Regions from separate parts of the Homo sapiens genome. Here all the other regions are linked to region 1. Evidence: promoter capture Hi-C in 16 types of primary human blood cells and fetal thymus (Javierre and others, 2016). All regions are on one chromosome and are shown on one strand. Each heading gives the region's core, a stretch centred on a gene start or on the middle of the fragment in contact. The rest is flanking DNA. Distances are from core to core; before and after follow the strand shown.

Region 1 (3,461 bases), core at 577-3,076:
ACTGATCGATCGTGCCACTGCACTCCAGCCTGGGCGACAGAGACCCTGTCTCACCTGTCTCAAAACAAAAACAAAACCCAGGTACTTAAAGATACGCTTATATGATTGGGAAAGGTCTTCAAGGTCGTCTAGTTTAAACCGACCTCTTCCGAAGCTGTAAACTTAATGACTTAATCCCTTTAACTTTGTTAAATTTCATATCACCTGGAGTTTTCTGTCACGCTAAAAGATATTTCCAAACAGGTGTCTGATATCCTAGCAATCAAGTCACATTTAAAGATCAGGAGGAAAACAATGTAACAGCTTTTTAAGTGGCAGCCAGGTTACTCAAAAGTGTGGATCAATTCCTGACAAAACCTGAATTACCATATTAACAAGATCTAAAATCCAGTAGCAGAAATAACAGAGAGCAAGAATAAACTTCTCTAGGTGCCCATTCATCCCCAAATCTTTACTGATTGCTAATCTTTCTGCAGAGCTGAAGTCGATTCCTTTAAAGATCCTTAATATTCCGGTCCTCGCCCCACCTCCCATCAGAGGGGTAGGTCTTAACATTATCTCATTTGCTACAAAGTAGTATTCAGTGGGCTTTTAAAATTTTATGAAGAGCGTTGAAATGCACTATCGAAAAATTTAAAGCTCTATGTATTCAGAAATTGACAGTACTTTAAACAAAACCGAAAAAAAACCTAGATATCCCTTCATCTTCCTTAAAGATGACCTCTCCGCGCTCTCTCCAACAATTTTCCCCATCAACGTTGCCAAGACACTTATCCATTGTATGAAGGACCTAGTTTTACGTTTACTGGTTACCTACCGTTTCCATGACACTGGGCTAGGAGCTAGGACAAATATACAAAAAGGCCTAAAATAAGCATCATATTTCTCTCCGAATTCCCAACACCCGGCAGTGCAGTAAATATTTAACGGGTTACTTTAAGGGATAAACCGTTTGCTATTAAAACCTATGAGGTGAGGGCTGAGGAAGGGAACGGCATTTGATGGGGAGACGAGGTAAGAAGAACGAGGTATTAATATCCGACATCAAAATGGGCTTCTAGGTCTCAACGTCTTAGACCTCACCACCAGAGCCAGTACCAAATTACACCCGTGGCACAATTTTCGGCTCAATACTGTTCTCGGTTTACCCTTACTAGTGCAGCTAAAGTTAACTCTCAACAGCACATTGTAAAAATCATCCAGGCAGGAAAAATCTGTACAAACGTGCACGAACATTTCGACATTGTCACGGGAACATTTAGAACCCAAAACAGGGAGAGTCTTGCCGTCTCTATACTGAGTACAAAGGCCCGAGAAAGCACTCTCATCGGCCCCCCAAAACGCACGTACGAAATCCCTTGACTAAGCTCTTTCACTCCTCGACCCTCTCAGAATTTCCTTCCTCAATCCCCCTTCCTACGCAGGTCTCCGGCTCTCAGCGTGTGGGCCTCTTCAAACCTTCTGACCCTCATAAAGATTAAGGGAGGCATTTCCCACTCATTCTTCTGGTTTCTTCCCTGGGCTCTCCCGCTGCAGGCCACCTCAGGCGCGTCCTCCTCCAACCACCCTTCCCGGCCTACTCCAGGCTTTAGTAGGCCTCAACCCTCAGCCACTCCGCCATTATTATTTACATCGTCGTCTGGGGAGGCTGAACGCTTCACCCCATGCGGGTGAGACTCTCTGGCAGCACTCATCCTTGCGGGGATCCCGACGAAAAATGCCGAACCCTCTCGCCGCTCTTCCCAGCCGCAAAACCAGCAGCTTACAATCCGCCAAGGGCCCAAGCAGCGCCACTACAGAACGCAGAGCCCCTCCGGGCCTTCTCTGCCACAGTCGTCACCGTTGCGGCCCCTCGCCGCCCCGGGGCACTTTGGGAGTTGTAGTTTTCTGATTCATTGCATACTGGCCCGAATAAAAAAGATGTGTCCGTGACTAAAACTACAATTCCCAGGAAGCCCCGAGGCTCAATTCGCGCTGTGTGGCGGGAGTGCCCTCAGAGGCCCCGCCTTCGGCTGGTGGAGGAAGCGTTCCCGCGGATGTGTATGGCGGTGAGCGTTGGCCGAGAGCTTTGTCGCCACAGGAGGAGGCTTAGAGGGGTTTTTGCCTTTCACCGTGCAACGCTGCCCTACTGGCAAATGTATCATCGTAGCTAGGCACCTATGTTTAAATGTAATGTTTGAGGCTGACTGAATCCTCACGAATACCCTCCACCCAGGACAAAAACCTTAACCAAAAATGGCTTCTACCATTTCCACCCTGGTGTTCTCTATTGCGCGCAGGGGATTTCTAGGTGGTCGGTGATGCTGCTTTCTAAATGTTTTCATGAATATTTCGCTGTTTTCCCATACAGAAATGAGTTCAGTATGTTGTTAAATGTTGGCTAATTGGCGGTTGTTGAAAACGGGGATTTAGCTGAGGGAAATCTGTTAAGTTTTCATATGGCTTTGTGTGAGGTGGGAGTGCTCCTCACTGACCTCGCTGTGGATGTCTGGGCACCGTTACAGTAGGGGCCTTCACCAAGCAAAGTCCATCCCTGCCACAAAAGCCTCTATTTTTTTTCTTTTTTAAAAAAAGTAATTATTGAGGTTAAATTCACATATAAAATTAACCATTTTTTAAAAAGTGTACAATCCACTGTCACTTAGTACATTCACAATCGTGTGCAGCTGTCACCTCTGATTCCAAGAAGTTTCACCACTCCAAAAGGAACCCCAATGCCCGTTAGCAATCCCTCCCCATTTCTCGCCCTCTCTCCAGATTCAAGTGATCACTCCTCTACTCAAAAAGCCCTGCATTTAAAGCTATTTATTGTTCAGATACTGAAGACTATCTCCTACTTTATTAAGGTGTCTGAATTTGTAACCAGGTCTGAACTTAACTTTCTGTCAGAATCCTTGTCCTTAATAATTCTGAAGCTTTCTCACCTTGAATACAAATGTGATTTTTTTTTTTTTTAAGCAAAAATTAGGCCTGGCGCCATGGCTCAGGCCTGTAATCCCCAGCATTTTGGGAGGCTGAGGCGGGTGGATCACGAGGTCAGGAGTTCGAGACCAGCCTGATCAACATGGTGAAACCACGTCTCTACTAAAAATACAAAAATTAGCCTGGCATGATGGCACATGCCTCTAATCCCAGCTACTCGGGAGGCTGAGGCAGGAGAATCGCTTGAACCCGGGAGGCGGAGGTTTCAGCGACCCAAGATGGCGCCACTGCACTCCAGCCTGGGTGACAGAACGAGACTCGGTCTCTAAATAAATAAATAAATAAATAATAAGTGGTATGGATAATACATATCTGCTGTTTCAGAACTGAGAGCAGTCTGTGAAACAATGCTTAGCTATTAGCTTTTGAACTCAGCAATTGCTCTAGTTTCACTGCCTGTGTACAAATATTACTTACCTAGATTTCAGATCCTCACTGAACTGTGACCAGTGGAAGGTAGTTTTTAAATTTATGCAGTC
Region 2 (3,461 bases), core at 1-2,500, 8.8 Mb after region 1:
CCACAATGGAGGCCAAAATGACTGGGTGCAGCCTGACCACGCGGCCGCCGGGGAAGGGCCCTGGAAGAGCAGGACCAGGCAGAGCGGGCGCTGGGGTCTGCGCTGGAGCTTGCGCTGAGGCCGGGGTCTGGCCAGGAGCCGCAGTTGCAGCCGCTGCTGCCGCAGGGTCTGAGGATGAGGCTGGAGCCGCAGCGGGAACCGGAGCCGCAGCCGGTGCTGGCGTTGGCGCTGGAACTGAGGCTGGGGCCGCCGCCGGGACTGGGGTTGGCGTGGCCGGAGGAGCACTTACTGGTACCGCCGGTGTGGCCATCTTGTCGAGAAAGAAGGAGGCGGAAGCGGAAATGACAGCATTCATGAATATCAGGAGCTTGATAGGCTGAATATACACCACGTGAGCTAGAGCTTTTTGCTGATTGGTTACTGGTGATACTTCTCGGAGCACTGAAATAGTCCCGCCGTTGGTAATTTCTTCTGGAATTTGTGCGCTCTGCTTTTGGCCCGAGGAGCACTCAGGAAACCCTGGGCTAAGTAGTTCCGGGTAAAACTTGGGACGGCGTTCGAAGAGAAACACTTTGTGCAGCTGCCGCCAGGTGGAACCAGAAAGCAGCGCGGAGGTCGAAATTCGTGTTTTAGACTTAAATGAGATAATGGATGTCAAAGTGCCTTTAAAAAGGATTTTAAGGCCAGGCGCGGTGGCTCACGCCTGTAATCTCAGCACTTCGGGAGACCGAGGCGGAAGGATCGTTTGAGCCCAGAAGCTCGAGGCTGCAATGGGCGAGAAGGAGAACTTAGCTGGATTTCTCCTGCTGCTTTGAGAAGAGACTGGAGGGTGAGGGGAGGTGAGGAGAGGGAGGCGAGAGAGGGAAAAGCAGGGAGACCTGCTGGGAGGCCACTAGGTAATCTAAGTGAGAGATGATGGTGGCTGGGACCAGGCTGGTAGCAGTAGAAGTTCTGAGAAGTGGGAAGATTATGGATATATTTTGAAGGTAGTTTCAATAGGGTTTCCTGAGAAATTGTATATGAGGTGTGAAAGAGAGGAGTCAAGGAGGACTGCAATTTTTTTTTTTTTTTTTTGTACTGAGCGATTAGTAGGATGAAGTCACCATCAATTGAGATAGCAAAAGCTGTAGGTAGAGCAGGTTTTGGGGAAAAGATCCTGATTTCATTTCTGAATGTGTCACCTTTGAGATGTCCATTACACATTCAAGTGGAGTTGTAATAAGGTGTATAAACTAGTCTGTACTTTAGGAGAGGATTATATGAGGTATTGCCTTGTAAAGCTCTTAGCACATGCCTGATATACAGTAGTTATTAAGTCATAGCTATTATCACTATGTGATGGAGGGAGCTCTGACCATAACCCACTGTGTAACTTGGGGCAATCTACAAGTTTTTTCTGAGCCTCAATTTCCTTCTTGGTATAATGGGGTGATAACATCTGCTTGTAAAGACAAAACAAAACACCAAAAAAACTGTCAACTCCCTTAATTAGGTCAAGTCCTAGTGTCCAGCTGGCAAGTGGATAGGTGAGGTTGAACTTCTTATCCCTGATTCTGTGCCCAAGAGTTGATTTCTCCTTGGAGAAATCTTCCATTATTAGAATTCACATGACGCTGCTCCCCTGTAAATGCTCTGTGTAGACATGCATTCTTTCTTTCACCAAAACAAAGGTGAACAGCCAAACAGAAGAAGATTGAAAAGTAACTCTTGGATTTGATGACCTGGAGTCTTTAGCAACCCTAGTAGAGCAACGTCAGTGGGACTGAGGGTGGGGTGGGCACAGAAACTAGAAATCTGGTGTGAGAGAATGGCCAGTCTGAACTGAAAGCAGCAAGTGCCAGCTTTTCTTTCAGGAAGTTTTCTGGGAAGGAAAGGAGACATTTAAGGAAATAGCCAGGGAAACAGCAGGATTGAGAGGCAGCCAATTTAGGATGGCAGTGTTTCAAGTATATTTTAAACTGAGGATAAGAATATAGACGAGAGAGAAATATTAAATATACAAGTGTGAAAAAATATCTAATGAAACGGGCAAAAGGTGGACCCACACTGAGAAGCCTAGATGGTCTTGCACAGGCTGAGAGGCATGCTGGAGAGACTGCCCAGGGCCCTGGCCTCCCTTTTGGGTGCTTAGTAGGGGTCTGCCTGAGTCAAGGTCAGTCCATTGAGATCATCTCATGGGAAAAAGGCCAGAGGACAGAACCCAGTTGAAGAAGTGTTGCTGCCCCCAACTGACCATGCACACCTTTGAGACCTCCTATCTATGTGTTAATCTGGGTTGGTGTGGACACTTTGCCTTCAATAACTTTGCCTTTATATTGATGTCTTAAAGACATTTCTCTCTGGGAGAAAAGAGAAGGGGATGGATGAAGAAGCAGAGATGAATTGGGGAGAGAGGGAAGTTGCAGGACCTCCTGCAAATGACATTTTTCTCAGGTAAGTTGAGGCAAGGTGATCTGCTGTGAATGGCAATGCAAGGGCAGGGATAAGCCTCGGGGGAATGGACAGTGTTTGGAGGAGGGTCTGAGAGTGAGCTATTGAAGGCATTGATCAATTATGGGAGCACCCCCTGAGCCTGGAGAGCTCGAGAATCTGGCCAACTCTTGTGGTTTTTCTCTAGCAACATAGCCCAGGAGCAGGAGAGTACAGATGGTTGGTGTGGTCTTTCTGGGAGGCTGACTGGCCAGGATGAGAGTGTGTATATCCCAAATGCTGGCTTTTCAGTGGCTGTCTGAGAGATATCTGGGGCCTGGGTTCATCAGGGAAAGGGCAGAGGTATGGGAAGAGAGAAAATAGACTGTACCCATGTAGATGGGCAATGTATTGTACGAGTGTATTAGGGTTCTACAGAAAAACAGAACCAACAGGATATATATAGAAAGAGATTTATTATAAGGAATTGGCTTTTGTAATTATGGAAGAAGTCTCAAGATCTGCAGTGAACAATCTGGAGACCCAGGAGAGCCAGTGGTGTAAGTTCCAGACTGAAAGCTGACAGGCTTGAGACCCCAAGAAGAGCTGATGTTTCCATTCAAGTCAAAAGGCTGGAAAAGGCCTATGTCCCAGTTCGAAGCAGTTAGGCAAGAAGAGGTCCCTGTTATTCACAGGAGGGTCAGCCTTTTTGTTCTATTCAGGTTCTCAACTGATTGGATGAGGCCACTCTTAGGGAAGGCAATCACTTTACCCAGTTTACTCATTCAAATGTTAATCTCATCTCCAAATACCCTCACAATCCCAGAATAATGTTTGACCAAATGTCTGGGCACCCTGTGGCCCAGTCAAGTTGACCCATAGGATTAACCTTCACATGTGGGTTCCTGGCTGTCCTGGCAACATGCTTGACAGTCCTGCCTGAAAAGACCAGGGCCACATATGCCAGGGTCATATTAAAGTTGAGACCTGCAGTTTGATGTATCCATCCCACCTCCTCGGTGATCAGCTGGCATGAGGGTAGCTCAGCTACA
Region 3 (3,461 bases), core at 1-2,500, 8.1 Mb after region 1:
CATTACCGCGGCCGCCGGGGTGCTTCCGGTGCTTGCCTGCAGGAATACAAAGCTACGTGGGGCCGGTGTGATGGCTCATGCCTGTAATCCCAGCATTTTAGGAGGACGAGGGGGGGTAGATCACCTGAGGTCAGGAGTTCGAGACCAGCCTGGCCAACACGGAGAAACCCCCGACTCTACTAAAAATAGAAAAAGAATTAGCCGGGCGTCGTGGCGCACACCTGTAATATCAGCTACTCGGGAGGCTGAGGCAGGAGAATCGCTTGAGCCCGGCAGGCAGGGGTTGCAGTGAGCCGAGATTTCGCCACTGCACTCCAGCCTGGGCGACAGTGATCAGTCTCACACACACACAAAAAAGCTACATGCACCACACAGCCTTCTCATGCATCTCAATACTTCCTCGCACAAAAGCAGAGTGTTTCCCAGACTTCTGTGTCCCGCTTACGCTGTTCCCACCCTACCGATGCCGGTTTTCAGCAATGCGATTACTTTAGGATTCCGGGTGAAACATCTTTTCAGGTTCCACATCACAGCATTCCCACAGTACTCCATGTCTTCAACTAACCCAATACCGTGCCTGCTCAATTCCTATTACCCCACTGATGTGAAATTCCTTAGAACTGGAATACTAGAGGATCGTCAGAAAAAAATCAACAGCTGTGCAACTTGACCACAAAAAGGTCTTATTCTAACCCACTTATAGGCTACCGATCTCCAGACTAGCTAAGCACCCGAAGAGAGCCCAAGGCCCACCCCGAGGGGAAGCCGGCACTTACCTATGCGGCCGTGGCCGTGGCTCACGTGGCCCCTAAGTTTCCGGGTCTTCCTCAGTCTGGATGGCTGTGTGGAAAAAGCTTGGTGGTAAGGCCTAAGGAATTAGGGGCAGGGGGCGATGCCCGCCAGCCGAGATGGTCCTGTAAGCCTGTGGGTCAAAGACCTAACTTCTGGAGCGTTTGGGAAAGCTGAGGGTACCGATCCGCTCAGGGCCGTGAGGTCTCACCACGGTAGCGCAGGGGCCCGCGTGTCCTAGAGATCCGAACCGCGGGCCTAACACACGGCTCCGGGAGCCCCGCCCCGGGCCCGCGCCGGCCACCCTGCCCCGCAGGCGGCCATGCGCAGCCTGGAAGCCCCGACCATGGTAGGGAGTGGATGACTAGGGGCAATGGGAATACAGCTTAGGGGTCTCCGCCGGCAAGGAAGAGGAGGCAAGAAACGAAACACCTACCATGTTGGCAGCCCAGACGAAAAAGGAAGGCCTTCGCCAAGTCTCGCGAGGTATCGGCCACGGGGGCGGGGCAAAACGCCTCACTTCCGGTCACAGAGGCCGGGCTTCGGGCGGGGCCTCCTGGTCTCGCGGGATTGCGCGCCTGCTAGTCGCTTCCTCTTTCTGAGGGTGGTGATCCCCCATCACGGAGTGTCCTGGTGGCGGTGTACGGTTTCGGTGAGGCTCGTTGTGCTAGGCTCGGAGGGCGAGAACTGTTGAAGAATCGGGGCTAGGTGTGCTGTACTGCACGCCGCCCGTGCTTGCTTGAGCCAGGCCCTTTTCTGGCGCCTTGGTCAGGGAACCGCCTAAGCCGACCCTAAGGGCCTCGTTGTCTGAGCTCCTCACCAAATGCGCCAGCCCTGAGCCGCCCCGCGCACCTCCACAGTTCTTAGTGGTCTGCCCGGGGCTGGTGATAGTGGCTACTGGTTTGTCTCCCGGCCGCAGTGCGGAACCGCGAGGCCCTCTTTAATCCTCAGTGTGCCCACCTGGTGTCTCGCTCGGTTTCCTGAAGCTCGGGCGGCTCCCGAAATGCCTTCTCCCGCTCTCACACTTCTGAGTGGGCACTGCAGCTTCCTTTCTCTTTTGCCCTTTTGCTATCATTTGGTTGTCCTCTCAAGTTTGAGCAACTTAAATTGCTTCAGGGACTTAGATGCCTGGTTGCTTTATGGTCCTTTTAATGCAGATGTTGTAAATACTTTTTCTAAATGCCACATTTAGGCCAGGCGCGGTGGCTCACACCTGTAGTCCCAACACTTTGGGAGGTCGAGGCGGGAGGATTTCTTGAGGCGAGTAGTTCAACACCAGCCTGGGCAACATAGTGAGACCCTCGTCTCCACATACAAAAGTAAATAAGTAAAAATAAATGCTATTTTTGAATTTTCTCCAGAATCTACATAACACGCCTGTGACCCTTTCCTGGACACAATGCAGACAGTTGCTCGCTTCCCCACCTGTACCACCACACAATCTAGTATAACCCTTATGTAATTTATTGACCTACGTTTGTCTTCCCTACTAGACCTAATTCCTTATGTGGTCAAGGACTGTTTTTTTTAATCCACACTCAACTAGTGATTGTTGAGTGAATAAATGAACTTACCCTCACCTCCCTGTCTTCGCTAATAGCAGCATGTCTTCGCTCTTAAGTCGGTTCCTTCAACCAGTGTTCAAGATCCCATCCCCTCGCTAGTCTATTAATAGATCCCATGGGAAAAATGAAATAAATTTTTAAAATCCCATCCCCTCAGTTATTCTCTGTGTGTATGTGTGAGCGTGTATTTATTTATTTTTCTTTGTCTTGCCCCCTTCAGCTAAAATATATTTTAGCTAAAATATCCAAAATTCTGGCCGGGCGTGGTGGCTTACTTCTGTAATCCCAGCACTTTGGAAGGCCGAGGCGGGCGGATCACGAGGTCAGGAGATCGAGACCATCCTGGCTAACACGGTGAAACCCCGTCTCTACTAAAAATACAAAAAATTAGATGGGCGTGGTGGTGGGCGCCTGTAGTCCCAGCTACTCGGGAGGCTGAGGCAGGAGAATGGCGTGAACCCGGGAGGCGGAGCTTGTAGTGAACCGAGATCGCGCCACTGCACTGCAGCCTGGGCGACAGAACGAGACTCCGTCTCAAAAAAAAAAAAAAAAATTCCAAAATTCTCCCATGTCCTTGCCCTTACAGCCAAGCTCCCCAAAAGAGTAGTCTACAAATCCTGCCCATTTGCACCTTCCCATCCATTGTTCACTGCGGTCTAGCTCACAGCCTGTGACTTCAGTGAAATTGCTCTTACTAATGTCATTAATGAACGAATTGCCAAATTGGACTCTTCCTATTCTTCATATCACTTGTTCTTTCTGTTGTACTTTAATCTGTTGGCGTCTTTTTCTAGAAAAAGTCTTGCCTTCCTCCTACTCTTTGGTCACTTTTCAGTCTTCTTTTCAGGTTCTTCCATCCAGCGTTGTCCACCATTTGAATGTTGATGTTCCTCAGCCTTCTGTCCTTGTCCTTATCTTTTCACAGTACATGGTCTTCTTGGGTGGCTTCAATTCACATCCTTATTGCTGAGCTCCACACCCATATGGTCACTTAATTACTGGTTAGTATTCCTTGGACATTCTACAGACAAAGTAAACATATCCAAAGAACTCAATCTGCACTGCTCACTGGTGCCTTCTCCTTTATTCTCTGTCTTGGTGAGTGGC
Region 4 (3,461 bases), core at 589-3,088, 6.1 Mb before region 1:
TCCCCTGCCCTCCCCTCCCCTCCCCTCCCCTCCTCTCTTTCTTTTCTTTCGACGCAATCTCTCTCTGTTGTGCAGGCTGGAGTGCAGTGGCGCGAGCTCGGCTCACTGCAACCTCCGCCTCCCGGGTTCAAACGATTCTCCCTGCTCAGCCTCCGGAGTAGCTGGGATTACAGGCGCCCACCACCATGCCTGGCGAAGTTTTGTATTTTTAATAGAGAAAGGGTTTCCCCACGTTGGTCAGGCTGGTCTTAAACTCCTGACCTCAGGTGATCCACCCACCTTGGCCTCCAAAAGTACAGGAGTAAGCCACCATGCCTGGCCTTTTTTTTTTTTTCATACATTTCAGTGAGACAGAGATAGCGCTTACAATTTCACGTTTTCTAAACACAATGCTAAAGAGGAGGTGGGTAGTTATCTTTCTCTTTTTGCAACAGAGAACCTTCACTTTTTCTTTATATATTTTTATTTACCCTTAGAAACGGCCCATGCAATCGAATAATAGTATTAAAAAAGCATCATCCCCTATTATTTAAGGAATAAACTACTGTTTCATTCAATAACATGGAAGAATTTAGAAAATATTATGGCTTTTGCAAAACATATTGTATATTTCATTTATGTAAAACTTAAAGACTATAGTGATATTAACATTTATGCAAAACTTAAAGACTAAAGTGATATTAAACAAATTAATAGTTTCCTGGATCTAGGTATAGGATAAAGTATTGAATGGGATTGGGTACAATAGAAGGTTTTTGGGTGATGGAAAACTTACATATCTTGAATGTGGTGATCACATGTTTGTTAAAACTCAGTGAACTCTACAATCAAAATAAGTGCATAATATTATATGTAAATTATACATCTATAAAAAATTAACCAGCAAGTATATCAAAAAGCCGACAATGGTTTCTGAGACGCTGTCACTATACATCCTACCTTTTTGTAATGTTTGAAAATTTTTACATAAGCAGAAATAACTAATAGAATGCAAAAATAAAATAAAATAAAATAAAAGCATTTGTGTGGAGACGAGATCAGTAACTTTAGTATCACCTGTGGGTTTACTGGAAATGAATCTCAGGTCCCACCTTATACTTACTAAATCAGCAAGTAAATTTTAACTAGTTGCCCAGCTGATTCTCATACTTATTAAAATTTGAGGAGAATCATTAAAACATTTCTCAGTAGATGAAACTTTATTATTTCTCTCGGAAGGATAAATGACTTCTAAATACCAGAAACTAGTGGAAATGTCAACTAATGCCACATTTATGACGCTAGATTCATCGTCATAATAATGGATTTTATATTCTGCCCTCTGTTCTGGAATAGCACTGTCACTAAGAAGGGAGAAAAGGGTGCTGATGTTTACTTGGAATTTTGGCTTTAATTTCTAGGACACCAGAGTCCCATCTCATAAAAAAAGGTAGCATGAACTACCCAGAGCTGTACCACTCATTCATTTATAAATGGTAAGGCAAGGTTAGCAGGAAGAGCTTTGGAACCGTAGCGAAGCTTTTCCATCCCTTCCCTGCATTGCTACCCACAGCAGGTGTTTCCTGGAACCTAGGCTTTGGCCACAAGCCCAGCGGTCGCGGGGCGGGGGTAGGCGGAGCTGTGGGTGAGGAAGGGGCAATGCCTTAAGGGGGCGCAGCTGAGCTGTGGGACTGGTTGGTGTCGCGAGAAGAGGGGGGCGTTGCCGCAGAGAGGCGAGGCGGGGCAGAGCTGCGGGGTGGGGGCGGGGCGTTGCCGCTGGGGCGGAGCCGAGCCAGTGGAGGGCGGTGGGGGCGGGGCAAGCGCGGAGGACCAGGGACCGGCTCCGGACCGCGCAGTTAGCGCCGCCTGGCCTGGGCCGGACCCGGTCAGGGTTCTCAAGCTGTCGTCCCTATGGGGCTGTGTTTTCCTTGTCCCGGGGAGTCCGCGCCTCCCACGCCGGACCTGGTGAGTAGAGCAGGTCCCTGCGTCCGCCGGGCCGCGCCTTGAGCACCTGTCCTCGGGTTGCGGGGCGGGCCGAGCCATTGTACCTGGTGGCGCAGGTCGAGAGCCCGCTGGGGGACCCTGCTAGCGAGGACGGGTGGACGCGTCAGGAGGGTCGTTGGGTCCTGTCAGAGCGACCTAGGCCGTCGCCTCCGTGTAGATCTCCACTTTTGTAACAAAAAGTTGTCGAAAGGCGGCTGTGGCGTCTTTCTACCTTCCACTGACTTTAGCTGCGCCGGATCTTCATAGGGCGCCGGCGCACGCAGAGGGCGTTACGCGTGGGACATTCCGGGGGATGTGGTAGATGGAATTCGGCGCGAAAAGACATTGCTTTCTCCGGGAGCTCTTTAGTCGTCTAGGAGATGTGCGTTTTCAACTGTGTCTACCATCTTTTAAAAGAAGGTGCTCGGAAAGTCGCTTATACGCCTGAGCTTTATCGGATATGTTTTTTTAATGATTTCTTTTTAGTATTTATCTCATTCTTTTACGTTCTCCCTTTAAAAGAATATGTAGTACAGAGTGTCCAATTTATAATGTCGTATTTAATAAAAATACTGGACACCCAGTTACATTCGAATTTCAGATATACAAGGAATACGTTTATAATATCGTTTTGTGCCATGCAATATTAGGGATCTAGTTCTACAAAAACATTACTCATTGCTTATCTGAAATTCAAATGTAGCTAGTGGGTGTGTGGTACAATACATGTACACTTTTTGTAGCTTTCTGTTAACAGTATCTTTACATTAGTACTCCTTACAGGGAGTTAACATAAACCTGTTTCTCTTCTCTAGCTAAAAATTAGTTGAAGAAAATGAAGTATTTTTGGGAAGTACATTAACTCTTCAGCTACTATAGATACTAAAAATTTAGTACTTATAAATTTGATGTGGGAAAGTTCAGCTTCTCTTTGTTGCTGCTGTTGTTTTAAATTAAGTTGATTTTGTTGTTCTGGCTGTCGATAAAATATAACATGTCAGATTTGTTAAGCCCTCCCCCCCATCCTCATACTATACCCTCTTCCCTTGATAACCACACGGCTCACTGCTTGGATGTCACTTTACCAGTGAAGCTTTTGCTGACCACGTTAAACAAAATATATTCCCCACAATACCACCCACCCATTCTCCCATTACTTATCTGCCATGCCATCTGACAGACGTTTACTTACTTCATTATATTTGTCTGTGCGCCCGCAATTGGAATTTGTTTCATTTGGGAGGAGACATTTATCTATGTTTTTACACTGTTGTATCCCAGCACCTAGAAAAAGGGCTTTATAATAAGTAGTACATGGTCTAGAAAAATAGCATTCACTGTTTTCTGATATGGAACAATACCTCTCATGAAATTACTCCAGTCCTTCCCTCCTACACACTGAGATTAGCCCACTTCATTTATTAACCTTTCCTAAAAACACCAGGTTACTTCAGACTCCATTTTAACCGGCAGTAACAAACCATGTATTTTCCTTTTTG

Evidence for each region. Contacts are between HindIII fragments. The CHiCAGO score rates a contact against its expected background, and 5 or more counts as called.
Region 2: a contact is called between a fragment that was not itself captured here and the fragment with the promoter of C11orf58 in region 1, in 2 of 17 cell types (non-activated CD4 T cells and total CD8 T cells). The highest score is 6.4, in non-activated CD4 T cells.
Region 3: the fragment with the promoter of RPL27A here is called in contact with the fragment with the promoter of C11orf58 in region 1 in 6 of 17 cell types (total CD8 T cells, non-activated CD4 T cells, activated CD4 T cells and 3 more); the score reaches 13.8 in total CD8 T cells.
Region 4: a contact is called between the fragment with the promoter of SVIP here and the fragment with the promoter of C11orf58 in region 1, in 5 of 17 cell types (total CD4 T cells, non-activated CD4 T cells, naive CD8 T cells and 2 more). The highest score is 14.9, in total CD4 T cells.

What each region holds. Positions count from the first base shown.
Region 1 is chr11:16,737,012-16,740,472 of GRCh38, reverse strand. It overlaps C11orf58 (chromosome 11 open reading frame 58), which reads right to left and starts at 1,826. Exons shown (of 5, transcript NM_014267.6): 1 at 1,632-1,826. The coding sequence starts at 1,694. It also overlaps a transcript of SOX6 not described here. RefSeq lists an enhancer at 1,323-1,952. The HindIII fragment of the contact is 4,072 bases long and covers 1-2,917 here.
Region 2 is chr11:7,984,202-7,987,662 of GRCh38, reverse strand. It overlaps EIF3F (eukaryotic translation initiation factor 3 subunit F), which reads right to left and starts at 326. Exons shown (of 8, transcript NM_003754.3): 1 at 1-326. The coding sequence starts at 310. RefSeq lists enhancers at 32-81, 1-88, 89-628, 512-691. The HindIII fragment of the contact is 5,200 bases long and covers 1-3,461 here.
Region 3 is chr11:8,680,581-8,684,041 of GRCh38, reverse strand. It overlaps RPL27A (ribosomal protein L27a), which reads right to left and starts at 1,250. Exons shown (of 5, transcript NM_000990.5): 1 at 1,226-1,250; 2 at 777-840; 3 at 1-36. The coding sequence starts at 1,228. TRIM66 (tripartite motif containing 66) reads left to right here and starts at 1,377. Exons shown (of 25, transcript NM_001388022.1): 1 at 1,377-1,441. RefSeq lists enhancers at 329-971, 1,298-1,487, 1,688-1,757, 621-1,820 and a silencer at 978-1,177. The HindIII fragment of the contact is 2,972 bases long and covers 857-3,461 here.
Region 4 is chr11:22,828,178-22,831,638 of GRCh38, reverse strand. SVIP (small VCP interacting protein) reads left to right here and starts at 1,838. Exons shown (of 4, transcript NM_148893.3): 1 at 1,838-1,944. The coding sequence starts at 1,891. LINC02718 (long intergenic non-protein coding RNA 2718) reads right to left here and starts at 2,225. Exons shown (of 11, transcript NR_187210.1): 1 at 2,028-2,225. RefSeq lists a silencer at 1,714-1,783 and an enhancer at 1,934-2,243. The HindIII fragment of the contact is 1,537 bases long and covers 1,521-3,057 here.